2 separate regions of the Homo sapiens genome follow, and region 1 is linked to region 2. The links are contacts of gene promoters, found by promoter capture Hi-C in blood cells and fetal thymus (Javierre and others, 2016). All regions are on one chromosome and are shown on one strand. The core of a region is centred on a gene start or on the middle of the fragment in contact, and the rest is flanking DNA. Distances in the headings are between cores, read along the strand shown. Region 1 overlaps LOC105370941 (a long non-coding RNA gene). Region 2 holds the start of PHGR1 (proline, histidine and glycine rich 1).

What was found. Contacts are between HindIII fragments. The CHiCAGO score rates a contact against its expected background, and 5 or more counts as called.
Region 1: a fragment that was not itself captured here is called in contact with the fragment with the promoter of PHGR1 in region 2 in 4 of 17 cell types (total B cells, naive B cells, naive CD8 T cells and 1 more); the score reaches 8.1 in total B cells.

Annotation. Positions count from the first base shown.
Region 1 is chr15:39,784,791-39,790,522 of GRCh38, reverse strand. LOC105370941 (a long non-coding RNA gene) reads right to left here. Exons shown (of 1, transcript NR_135665.1): 1 at 4,906-5,732. Among named protein-coding and RNA genes, the nearest start is that of FSIP1, 4.8 kb to the right of the region's middle. The HindIII fragment of the contact is 472 bases long and covers 1,434-1,905 here.
Region 2 is chr15:40,348,196-40,353,654 of GRCh38, reverse strand. It overlaps PHGR1 (proline, histidine and glycine rich 1), which reads right to left and starts at 2,622. Exons shown (of 4, transcript NM_001145643.2): 1 at 2,593-2,622; 2 at 388-423. The coding sequence starts at 397. The HindIII fragment of the contact is 24,416 bases long and covers 902-5,459 here.

The DNA of each region.
Region 1 (5,732 bases), core at 420-2,919, 560 kb after region 2:
TGACCAATGAATGATAGAAAATTGAATGCATGGATGCAAGTGTCCACCCGAATGCAAAATTCTCACAAATTTGGGTCCAGGTAATGATCTCTAGATTCATTTAAAAAATTGTTGGCAATTTTCACCAAAATACCATCATCTGTAGCAAGCTATACAAGATAGATGAGCATTTAATGCACACCAGATATGAATTGAACCTGATAATTCATCTGCTTTTCTTTCATTCTCCAGCATGGATTGGATGGTTGCTGTTATTTGACATGAAAATACTCATTTTATTAACAAGTGCAATGAAAAATTCAGTATAGTGTCTCAAGAACATATTAATTTCTCTATTTCAACAAAATAAGGAACAGTGCTAGAGAGTTATCTTCCCATTGTTTGACAGATAGGCTGGTAAACTGAAGTCTGCAGAGGTGAAGAGGCTTGCCGTTCCATAACAGAGGTGGGATACATATGCAACTCTCATAAAACCTAAACAAATTCTGTTCTATTGCATCGTTCTATAAAAATAGGGCACTTCTCTTGTGGTTTTGCTTGCTTAATTCTTTGTTCGACAATTGCAGGGACAAGACAGATGGTTGTTACCATTACCCAGATGTTTCTAAACAAGTAATTCTTGCTGCCATGCACGTTGAGCAGATGCCTTTTACATTGTTATGAATGTTGGGTTGAGAAGCAGGTCATTTCCAAAGAGAGCAGAGACTGCTTAAATCAGAAAATCACAGGGTCTCAGAGCTGGAAGTAGTGGTAGAAACCTTTATCTACCTCTTATTTACTAGACAAAGAAACTGAGGTGGAAAGAGGTTAAGAGACTAGGCCCAGGCCACACTGTTCTTGGCAAAGACAGGACAGAAAATCCAGAGATGTGTATTTTAAAATGTGTGTCAGTGATGAATTACAAAAATATAAAACATCACAAATTTTGAACAAAATTAAAGCACTAATTTTAGTTTGCCTATTATGGCAAAATAAGGGGAAAATAAGCCAGCTTCTATTAAGAAAGGAGTTTGGATGATCAAATTTTAAAAATGTAAACAAGAAAACCAAGTCTTCAAAATGATGACTAGTTCCTAGTGTAATAAACACTGTATGTTCAGATAGAAACATTACTTTGGATTCCAGCTAAGAAAAAGATTGTGTAAGAAATAAAGTGAGAAGCTAAGAATGCCAGGATGAGACTTAAACATTGTGGCAGCCTGACCCATGACTGATGAACAAACCCCTGGGGTGGTTTACTTCTTATTTCTTTATGTCTGAGATGTTAACTCTGAGAAAAATCATTTCCTTACCTTGCTGCTTAACACCCTAAATATTTGATTTGAATGTTTCTAATATGGCATCTTAATTATTTTAGCTTCCTTTATTTTTTGTTAAAATATGTACAAAGGTTTACATAATAATGAAGGCTTACATAACTATATACTAAAGCTTCATTTTAGTATTGTAGGAAAACGGCCTGTTGCATAGCAAGATGACCAATGTGTTCCTGTAGCATAGATAAACTCTCATAGAGATGCTTATCTAACCACCCCAGGGGTCATGAGTTTTGCAAGAAGGCCTGAGGCATGACTGGCTGCACATCTTTCCCTAAAATCTTGCTATATAAAAGATGCTTTCTGGAGGGCAGTTGCGGGGATCCACTGTCTCTCTGGCCGCCAGAGACATGGCTTCTGTTTGTAAGCCCTTATTGAATGTTTCTTTCTGAGAAACTGGACTTGTCAGCTTCTTTCATTGGCCTCTCAGCTTCCTTGGCCTTTGGGGGTAGGTTTGCATAGACCTGCTTACCTCAACCAAGTACACAGATCAGGAGATCCAATTTAAAACAACAAACTAACAAACCCCTATGGGATCAGAGAGACCAAGCTCAATACTGAAGTTAGGTTTTGGACTCAGAGACAAGCTTACCTGTAGGTTGAAAGCATGAAGCATGAAACCCAATGCATGGGCAATGTTCAGAATCTGTTGGTTTCAGCCCAGGATTGATAGTTGCAGTGCAATTTCAGCCATTATGCGCAAGCAGTGTCACATCCATTCAGCTGACAGGGGCGAGACACTAATCTCAGTGGGCATCCAGCAACTGAAACTGCAGCTGGCCTTGGGAAGTTTCTGCCAACTCTTTAAATCTTTACAGGTACAGAGTTGCTGCGGGTGACCAAACTTTGTAGCCAGTAAGATCATGAGAAAGTTAAGCAGTCTGTTACTTTGAGGGAATTTCCTTAGAAAAGAAGAGAAACCGATTTTTTTCTCCTTTCTGGTGAGAATGACTCACTTGGCAGAGCTGATTGCTTTAGGGCCCACTTGACATGACACCTTCCCCCTGCAAATGACTCTGGATATTATAACATACCTTCGTTTTCATTGATTTACTTTACTATCTTTAAAAACAACCCTCTAGGCCAGAAACATGTAGCTGCACTGCTATGTGTGTGTGTGTGTGTGTATGTGTGCACTGATTTTTACACAATTTCACAATGTCCTGGAAGTTTGTGGCCCCCTAGGTTGACATTCGGATCGCTCGAGCCAGTTGAATAGTTATATGACAATACATGATCTAACTTCTTTAACTGAAAACAAACCTAAAGTCATCACTGTTTTTGGACCAATAGGCATTGAGAAGTTGTAAGCTTGATCTTTTAAAAAATGGAGACATCCACTGACCAGCAGCTAATTCTGTGCAGCACTCCACAGCAGACAGGGAGAGGAGGGAAAGAGTTCTACAGGGAGAGCATTTTTCAGTCTCTAGCCTGCTGTTTACAAAGGAAGTGCTGGATGTCACTGTTCACAGCCTCCGTGTAGAACAGCTGCAGGGGGCTCCATGGTGCCTCCAGGAGCAATGTCCTCACCACTATTTACCCTCTAAAACATTAACTTGAAGTCAGTGGTTCATCTGTACCACAAGCACCAAGGGACTTGTTAAAAATGCAGATTCCTGGTCTGCATTCCAGACCCACTGAATCATGTAATAGGGACTAGAATCAATATTTTAAATAACACCTGAACTGATCCTTCTCAACAACAAAATCTGACAACCCATTTGAATCGGGTTTATTTCACAGCTTTTAAGTTCTAAAAAATGTACTAAAATAAGGTACTAAGCACATATGAAACATATACTTAACATGTATTTTACTTTCAATAATAATAGCATTAAGCCTGGGCAACATAGGGAGACCTCACCTCTACAAAAAAAAAAAAAAAAATTCAACCGGGCATGGTGTTGCATGCCTGTAGTCCCAGCTACTCATGAGGCTGAGGTGGGAGGTTGCTTGAACCTGGGAAGTTGAGGCTGCAGTGAGCCATGATCATTGTGCTACTGCACTCCAGCCTGGGTGAAAGAGCATGACTTTATCTCAAAAAAAAAAAAAAAAAAGAAAAAGAAAAAAGTGTTACCTGTTCCAGAATCTGATTGTTGTTTTTTTCAGGCTTTATTTACTTCCCTGTTCATGACCCTTGCTGGCATGGATGGCATTGTGGCCAAGCAGGATTGGGAGATGCTGGAGGGAGTACAGTTGGTATAAAAGGGGTACATGGAATAAAACATGTATTTCTTCTTAAGTCTACTGATTTAATGTAAATACAGATGTATGAGAATTTTCAGAGTCTCAAAGTCACCATGGTTTTTTGATATTATTTATAGGTACTAACATTTTAAAAAATGCAGTTTTTTTGAGATCAAATTTTCACTTTTCCTATTTGGGTGGCTATTTAAAGATGCATCCAGGCACAATTCAGACATACAAGATACTTCAGTTCAGTGGTTTCTTGAATTACACCTAAAATCCAAAGGAACGTGTTTCTGAAAGTGGCTGCCAATTTTTTTTTTTAAGAGGACAATCAGCACCATCTAGTGGACACAAATATCTCCTCTTCTAGAATTCGGACCCCTGAGGAGATGGAGGGCAGGCTTTGGAACCTAGGTTGGAATCCCGGTGCCAGTTAGTTCCCCAACGACCTTGGGACAATTACTTACCCTTTAGGTGCTCTGCTTCTCAACTCTAAATCCAGGTAATACTAGTGCCGACTCATAGAATGTTATGAATGAAGTGAAATGATGCTTGGAAGGCAAGTCTGAAACACTTTGTAAATGCAGTTTTTCAATAACACTAAGCATAGATTCACAGGACATGGGAACTATCCAGTGGTAAACACTATTATCTGCTCTCCAGTAGGAATGGCTATTATACACAAAATCCAGTGTGTAGAATCTACGATATGAGGCTTAATGAGATCCCTCTCCTACCATATTGTTACATTCGGTTGAAGTTTATGGTGAGGAAAGGGCAACCGGGGCAACAAGGCTGAAATGGTAGTTGGTGCCCAGATGGCAAACAATGCTCTTGCTCGCTTTCATTCATTCAAATCTGACTCCACTCGGAAGGAGGATGTCAAGAGTAGGGAGAGACTGCAAACAAAAACAAAAGCTAACTCCGAAACTAACACTGCCACTGCCATATGTCACCAACCTGGAATGAGACCAGGGAAATTTTAGCTTCAAATATCTTGACTCTAGAAGAAATTTTTATGAATGACTTTGAAGGGCACAACACTTTCCAGGATGTGTTTGCGATTTTTGAAAATGGAACTGCAGAAAACACAGTATAGACATTTGGTGCTCTCGGACTTATATCCCCGTGCTGTTTTGAGGGTGTCACCTGCAATAGCTGACACAGAAGTATCTGGGGAAATTAAAAACAAATACACAACAAATGCAATTTATTAAAGCTGGCCCTTAAGGCACACACAGCCTCTCGGCAGTTTACAAAATGGAAGCAGCAGGAGGTAAATAAACACGTGAGAGTGACACAGAGACAAAACAATTCAAAATGAGATAAATAGTTTTATGCAAATATAGTCAATAGGGACTTAGTCTGGAAAGGTTACAAACAGTGAAGAGACACAAAGTTTACGTGGAACCCGAATTTTATTTTCACTTGCTTTATATGCATCTTATGTTGCATTTTAAAAACAACAGTTAAAAAAATGAAAACAGCAGTAATCATAGGTCCGCTTTTTCTTAGTTCAGCCCCTTCCCCCCCCGAGAAATTGGGAAGGTATTGTTTTCTTAGTGGACACTATTAGTCACCAAATTAAAAACTGGAAAGAATGGCCTTCGTTTATGGTGTATGAGAACCGTGCAGGCACTTGGCAATGATCTCGTCTTGCCGCTAGGTAAACAGCGGTCGGTGGACGGGGAGCATTGGCATCATCTAGGAGCCTGTTAGTCTCAGGTCTCACCTGATACTGAATCAACATTTTTTTTTTTGAATCAGCATTTTTAACAAGATTCCTCGGTGATTTGTCTGCACATTAAAGTTGAGAAGGCCTAGATTCATTTGATCTCAGGTACACCCCTGGTTGTGTAGTTTATGAAGTCTCCCCAGGTGATTCTAATGCTCTGTGCAGTTAAGCACTGCAAAACTAGTCCAACTTCATTTTTCAAATGAAGAAACTGTGGCCCACAAAAGCTTATGTATTTACCTAAGATAACCTAGCTGTTTAATATCAAAATCCAAATAATGTCATCTCTCTTCTTCATAAAAAAATAAAGCAGGGTTGAGGGGACAGAGGGTAGGGAGTGTGGAGATGGGGATAATTATTTTATACAGGGTGGTTGGGAAAGGCCCTCCTGAGGAAGCGGACGCCTGAGGAAAGAGAGGAGCAAACCAGGTGGATAGCTGGGAAACTGTATTTCAGGCTGGTGTGTGTGTGTGTGTATTTGGACTGGAGGA
Region 2 (5,459 bases), core at 1,373-3,872:
TAGGACGGTCTTTTGTTCATTTCGAGGGAAGCCGATGGCACAGCTCCCAAGAACTGGATTCTGGATTCCGACCCAGCTGCACCTCTATGGCCTTTCCCTGAGCATAACCCCTAGCTCCCCTGGGCCTTGAGTGTGCGGTGGGAGAAGCACCTACCCTTAGAAGCACCTAAGAACATGATGAGTAAGCATGCTTTTTAAACTGTAACATGTTCTACAGTATGTAAGGGCTTGTCTTCATTGTGGACCCCTACCACTGCCTTCATACAAACACACACGCACGTACATTTTTGGCACGCACTAGTTATGGCTGACTGATAGTCCCTGCCTTTACCGCTCTCCTGCTCTCTCCCTTCTTCCAATTCCCAGCCTCTCAGCCACAGTGCTTACCTGGGTCCATCTTTTTGGAGTAAGAGCAGGGAATACCTGTGTTCAAAAGGTAACTTTTAATTTACTGTAATCTAAATTGCAGTCTTTCCTTTCTCCCTCCCACGGATGCGCGCGCGCGCGCACACACACACACACACACACACACACACACACACACCCTTCAAAGGAAGAAAGGGAAAAAACTGCTCCCTCCGGCTTAGCTTGGCCCCAATATAGAGCTGGCACTGTAGGTGCCAGGCATGGGGGTTAAATGGACACAGCGGGTTCACCTACATGGTGGGTAGATGGAGACACAACAGCACCATGTACCAGCCCCTACACCCCATACTCTTACACTTGCCCCCCTAGACTCAACAATTGTGTGTTAATCCGATTCCTCTTGGGAAGATTTCAATATCCGTTCATTTGCTAATTATTCATGTTGTGTGTCTGCCCTGTGCCAGGTCATGGTATGCTTGTCCCTACAGACTCTTGTCTTGTGTAAACATCTGGCATGGCATGGGAGCAGGAAGCTTGGAGCTATCAGTGTGCCCAGTGCAGGGACGGGAAGGATGGTTTGCTAGGACAGGAATGGGGTTGGTGGCCCCTGAGGGCACAAGTGAATGGATTTTTGCCCTGGGGCTCAAGTGAATGGAAAGCCTTCCATGGGGTCCTAGCTGCTTGTACCTGTCTCCTCCCACCAGGATTGGAAGGGGGTGGGAGCTTGGAGTCTGAGCCAACTTGTCATTCACCAACAAGCCGTGCTGTCATGAGATGGAGCTGCTGAGGTAACGTGGTGCCAAGGCTGGCCATGTCTTGCTTGGGGCTGGCAAGTCACAATGGACAACCCCAGAATGGGCCCAGTGAACATACAGTACATTCATTTTTTTTCAACCCTCAAATGGGAGTGTAGTATGTGACGTCAGGAGCAAATACTTGACATCAGGGCTTTCTGGTACTTACAAGTTTGCTGAGCATACAAAAACAAACAGCGCCCCCAATACAACAACCCTAGCCTCTTGCAAGACACAGCCCCCTGAACCTCTTTTTTTTCTAGGGAGCCTTAGTGCCTCTTTAAAAGTTTTTTTGAGACAGTCTCACTTTGTCATACAGGCTGGAGTGCAGTGGCGTGATCACAGCTCACTGAAGCCTCGACCTCCAGGGTTCAAGCAATCCTCCCACCTTAACCTCTGGAGTAGCTGGGACTATAGGTATGTGCCACCACACCCAGCTAATTAAAAAAATTTTTTTTGGCTGGGCACAGCGGCTCATGCCTGTAATCCCAGCACTTTGGGAGGCCTAGATGGGTGGATCATTTGAGGTCAGGAGTTCGAGACCAGCCTGTCCAATATGGTGAAACCCCGTCTCTACTAAAAATACAAAAATTAGCTGGGCATGGTGGCGGGAACCTGTAGTCCCAGCTACTTGGGAGGCTGAGACAGAAGAATCGCTTGAACCCGGGAGGCAGAGGCTGCAGTGAGCCGAGATTGCAGCACTGCACTCCAGCCTGGGTGACAGAGTAAGACTCTGTCTCAAAAAAAAAAATTGTTTTGTAGAGACAAGGTCTCACTATGTAGCCTAGGCTCAAGTGATCCTCTCACCTTAGCCTCCCAAAGTGCTGGATTTCAGGCATGAGCCACTGCACCCGGCCCCCTGCACCTCTTGAGCTACCCATTTTCACTGGCCTCTACTTGTACTCAAAGTGTTCAGCTGAGGTCAGCCTGTGAACTATACCCATGGTCCTTCGTGCTCCCTCGTCCTTTCCCTTAGTGAGTGATAAAGCTGGAAGAGACCTATGGGGCTGGGCTTTGCGGGGAGGAGAGGTAAAGAAAACCTCAGGGCCAGTCAGGATCGGGTAAGACGAAAGAGAAAAGACAATCCTCAGAATGTATCTCCCCAGTTCAGGCCCAGGTGTTTGAGGGACAGGAGTTGGCAGCTCTGGAAGGGACCTCATGCAATTTCTTCCACTCTCAGCTAAGCCCTGCTGCCTGGCATGGCAAAGGCTATAAATCATAACTGAAGAAGACAGTGGAAGTGTAGGGGCCCAGCCCAGGAGTGGGGACAGTGCAAATGGACAGACACACACCCTCATGCAGAGACACGGAAGCACGGATACCAATTCAATGCATATACACACCCAGAGAGACCCTGACCACATGCACACACAACATACCCCACAGAGACCCTACTGTCCCCAGCCAACAGCAAGTAGAGCCAGGTCCCTACCTGAGAGTGCAGAGCAGGGGCAGGAAGTCTGGGGCACTGTCTGTCCTCAGGTGTATTTGTACAGGTCAGGGAGGGGCTGGGATTGAACAGGTGCACTGGGAGGGCCAGATGCAGAAGGCTCGAGGGAATGAAGAGGGATGGGCTAATCCTTATCTGGGCAAAGGACAGTTGAAAGCAGGATGTGTGTGTGTGTGTGTGTGTGTGTGTGTGTGTGTGTGTGATGGGGAGGCTGGGGAACAAGCCGTTACCAGATTGGTGTGGTAACGAGATGCCACAGAATCCAGGCAGAAGTCCCCAACACTGGCAAGGCTGTTTACACCAGGGACTGGCTCTGAACATTTGTAGAGTTCCTACTGAATGCCAGGCCAGGCATGCGGTGCTTCACACACATTAGTAACCCAATGAGTCCCACAAGATAGATAGGATGATTACCTCCTTTCAGCAGGTGGAGGAATAAATAGTGACCATAGTGGAGGACCTGGTGGAATATTTGCCCTGGGCGCCAAGCCCCAGGCCTGAATTGTCAGATGTGCTGCCCAGCCCAGGGAGCTAGCCTGAGAATGGAAATTAGACACAGAAAAGGGAACTTTTGGGATGGATCTAGGCAGGCGGGGAGGGAGCCCAGCCTGCCAGCTTGCTCTGCACTCCGAAAGCCCCTTGTGGTCCGGTCCCCACTGACCCCTGTGGCCTCTGATGCCTGCCACAACCTCTTGCTTGGCGTGCTCTAGCCATGGTGGCCTTCCTTAGTCCCCTGCAGACAGAGCCAGTGCCCTTGCTCAGCTCTCCTGTCTCCCTGGATCCTTGCTCCTGATGTCTCTTGATCCCAGTGGGGACTCTGTGCTCCTCAGAGGCAGGGGCTGTTGTGGCTTCCTTCCTTCCCTCCTTCCCTCCTCCTCCTCCTCCTCCTCTCTCTCTTTCTCTCTTTCTTTTCTTTCTGAGACGGAGTCTCTCTGTGTCACCCAGGCTGGAGTGCAGTCGCACGATGTCAGCTCACTGCAACCTCTGCATCCTGGGTTCAAGTGATTCTCCTGCCTCAGCCATCCGAGGAGCTGGAATTACAGGCGCCCGCCACCACTCCTGGCTAACTTTTGTATTTTTAGTAGAGACAGGGTTTCACCATGTTAGCCAAGCTAGTCTCAAACTCCTAACCTCAGGTGATCCACCCACCTCGACCTCCCAAAGTGTTGGGATTACAGGCATGAGCCACCACACCCGGCCTGTGGTGGCTTTCTTAGTCACCTTTATATCCCCTCAATTAGAGCAGTAACGTAACCACCATCAGGATACAATTTGGAAAATGGAGAGGAGGAAAAGAGTGATCCTCCTTTATCTCCACGGTGGGCAGGAAAGTGTTTGTGTGCCAGTTTCTCTTACAGTATCAGTTATCTCATATCAGCTCTTGGAGGTAATGGTTATGATCTTCCCCTCTTTTATAGATTAAAACATTGCCAGCGTTCAGAGACATTAAGAAATCTGCTTGAGGTCGCCCACCAAGTGTGTAGTTAGTCCCAACTGGGGACTATTTGAGTCTAGAGCCCGGGCCCTTTCTTCACCTTAGGTAATCTCTCCTTTTAGGAATGCTCTTCTGAAAAATTCCAGCCTGCTTTGCTAACATTGTTGGTCAAAGGACTTTGGTTTATGACTAGGTGGGAGGCTATTGGTCCCTTCTGCACACATTTGCTGTGGGTCTATGGGGAACCAGGACAGGGCGGCCTACTGGGGAGGGGCAGAAGTCCCAGGGGAGGTTTACAAAGGTATGGTGCCTGCCAGGCTCCGGCCCAAACTGTGTGAATGTTACCAACTGCATCCACTGCTCACTGTGCTCACCGCCCTCACCAGCCCTCTAAGCCCTACTCTGCTTCCTTTTACCCTTCAGGGATCTTGACACCGCAACCTCTCCACCTCTGTCCCCAGCCTTTGGCAGGAAGCTGAAAGAGAGGCCTGTGTCTTCACAAAGCCCCAGGAGGAAAGCAGGGGCTGAGAGGAATGCATGGGGGCCCAGTGCTCTGGGTTCCAGGCTTGAGGCCTAAGTTCTCCATCTCGGGAATCAAGGTCTGAGCTCCAGTGGGTGCCAATCACAGAACCCACTACAGCAGCAGTCAGGCAGAGTAGTGAGGCCTTGGGTGGTGGCAGTAGGCCCTGCCTTGATGGGGTGGACTGAGAAGACAGGGCAGCCTCTGAACCCCGAGTGGGCCCAGAGGCCTGTGAGAAGTGAGGAGGGCACCCACGGTGTGGTGGCACATGGGAGACGATCTATAGCAGGGTGTATGTGTTCATGGACTCTTCTCCTACCCAGTCTTAAGATTTTGAGGGCAAGCAGGGCCTGCTCCATGTGTGTGGCCCCACCACCCCTCAGCAGGCACTGTGCCTTACAGATGATAACTGCTCACCACGTGCTTGGGCATATTGCCTGGCTGAGTGTGGCGGCACTTCCCTGCTAGAAAGCCACAGAATGGAGAAGGGAGCTCTGTGGAGCAGGAGGAGATACTTCTGGGGTGAGGGGCTGGGATCTGGAAGAGGAGACGGGAGATCAGGGAGGGAGGCTGAAGGGCATCTCCTGGGGTAGTGGAGGCCATGAGGGGGCCCTGGGAGGTTGAGGACACAAAGTGAAGGCCCTCTCTGGAACCCCCAATGCCTGTCAGCAGAACCAGGAAGGCCCCCCTGCCTCCCGGGCTGCCCTGCAGGGTGGGGAGGGAGGTGGGACAGCCAGGCGCCACTTGGGCAGACAGGTTTTCCACAGTATGAGGCCAAAGGTACGCGCTGGAGAGAGTGCTGCAGGGATGGGCCACCAGCCACAGTGATTCAGAGGCAGTTGGGAGGGCCCCACCCTAGAGACTCCTGGGCAGGTCTCTGACCTTCATCTCCAA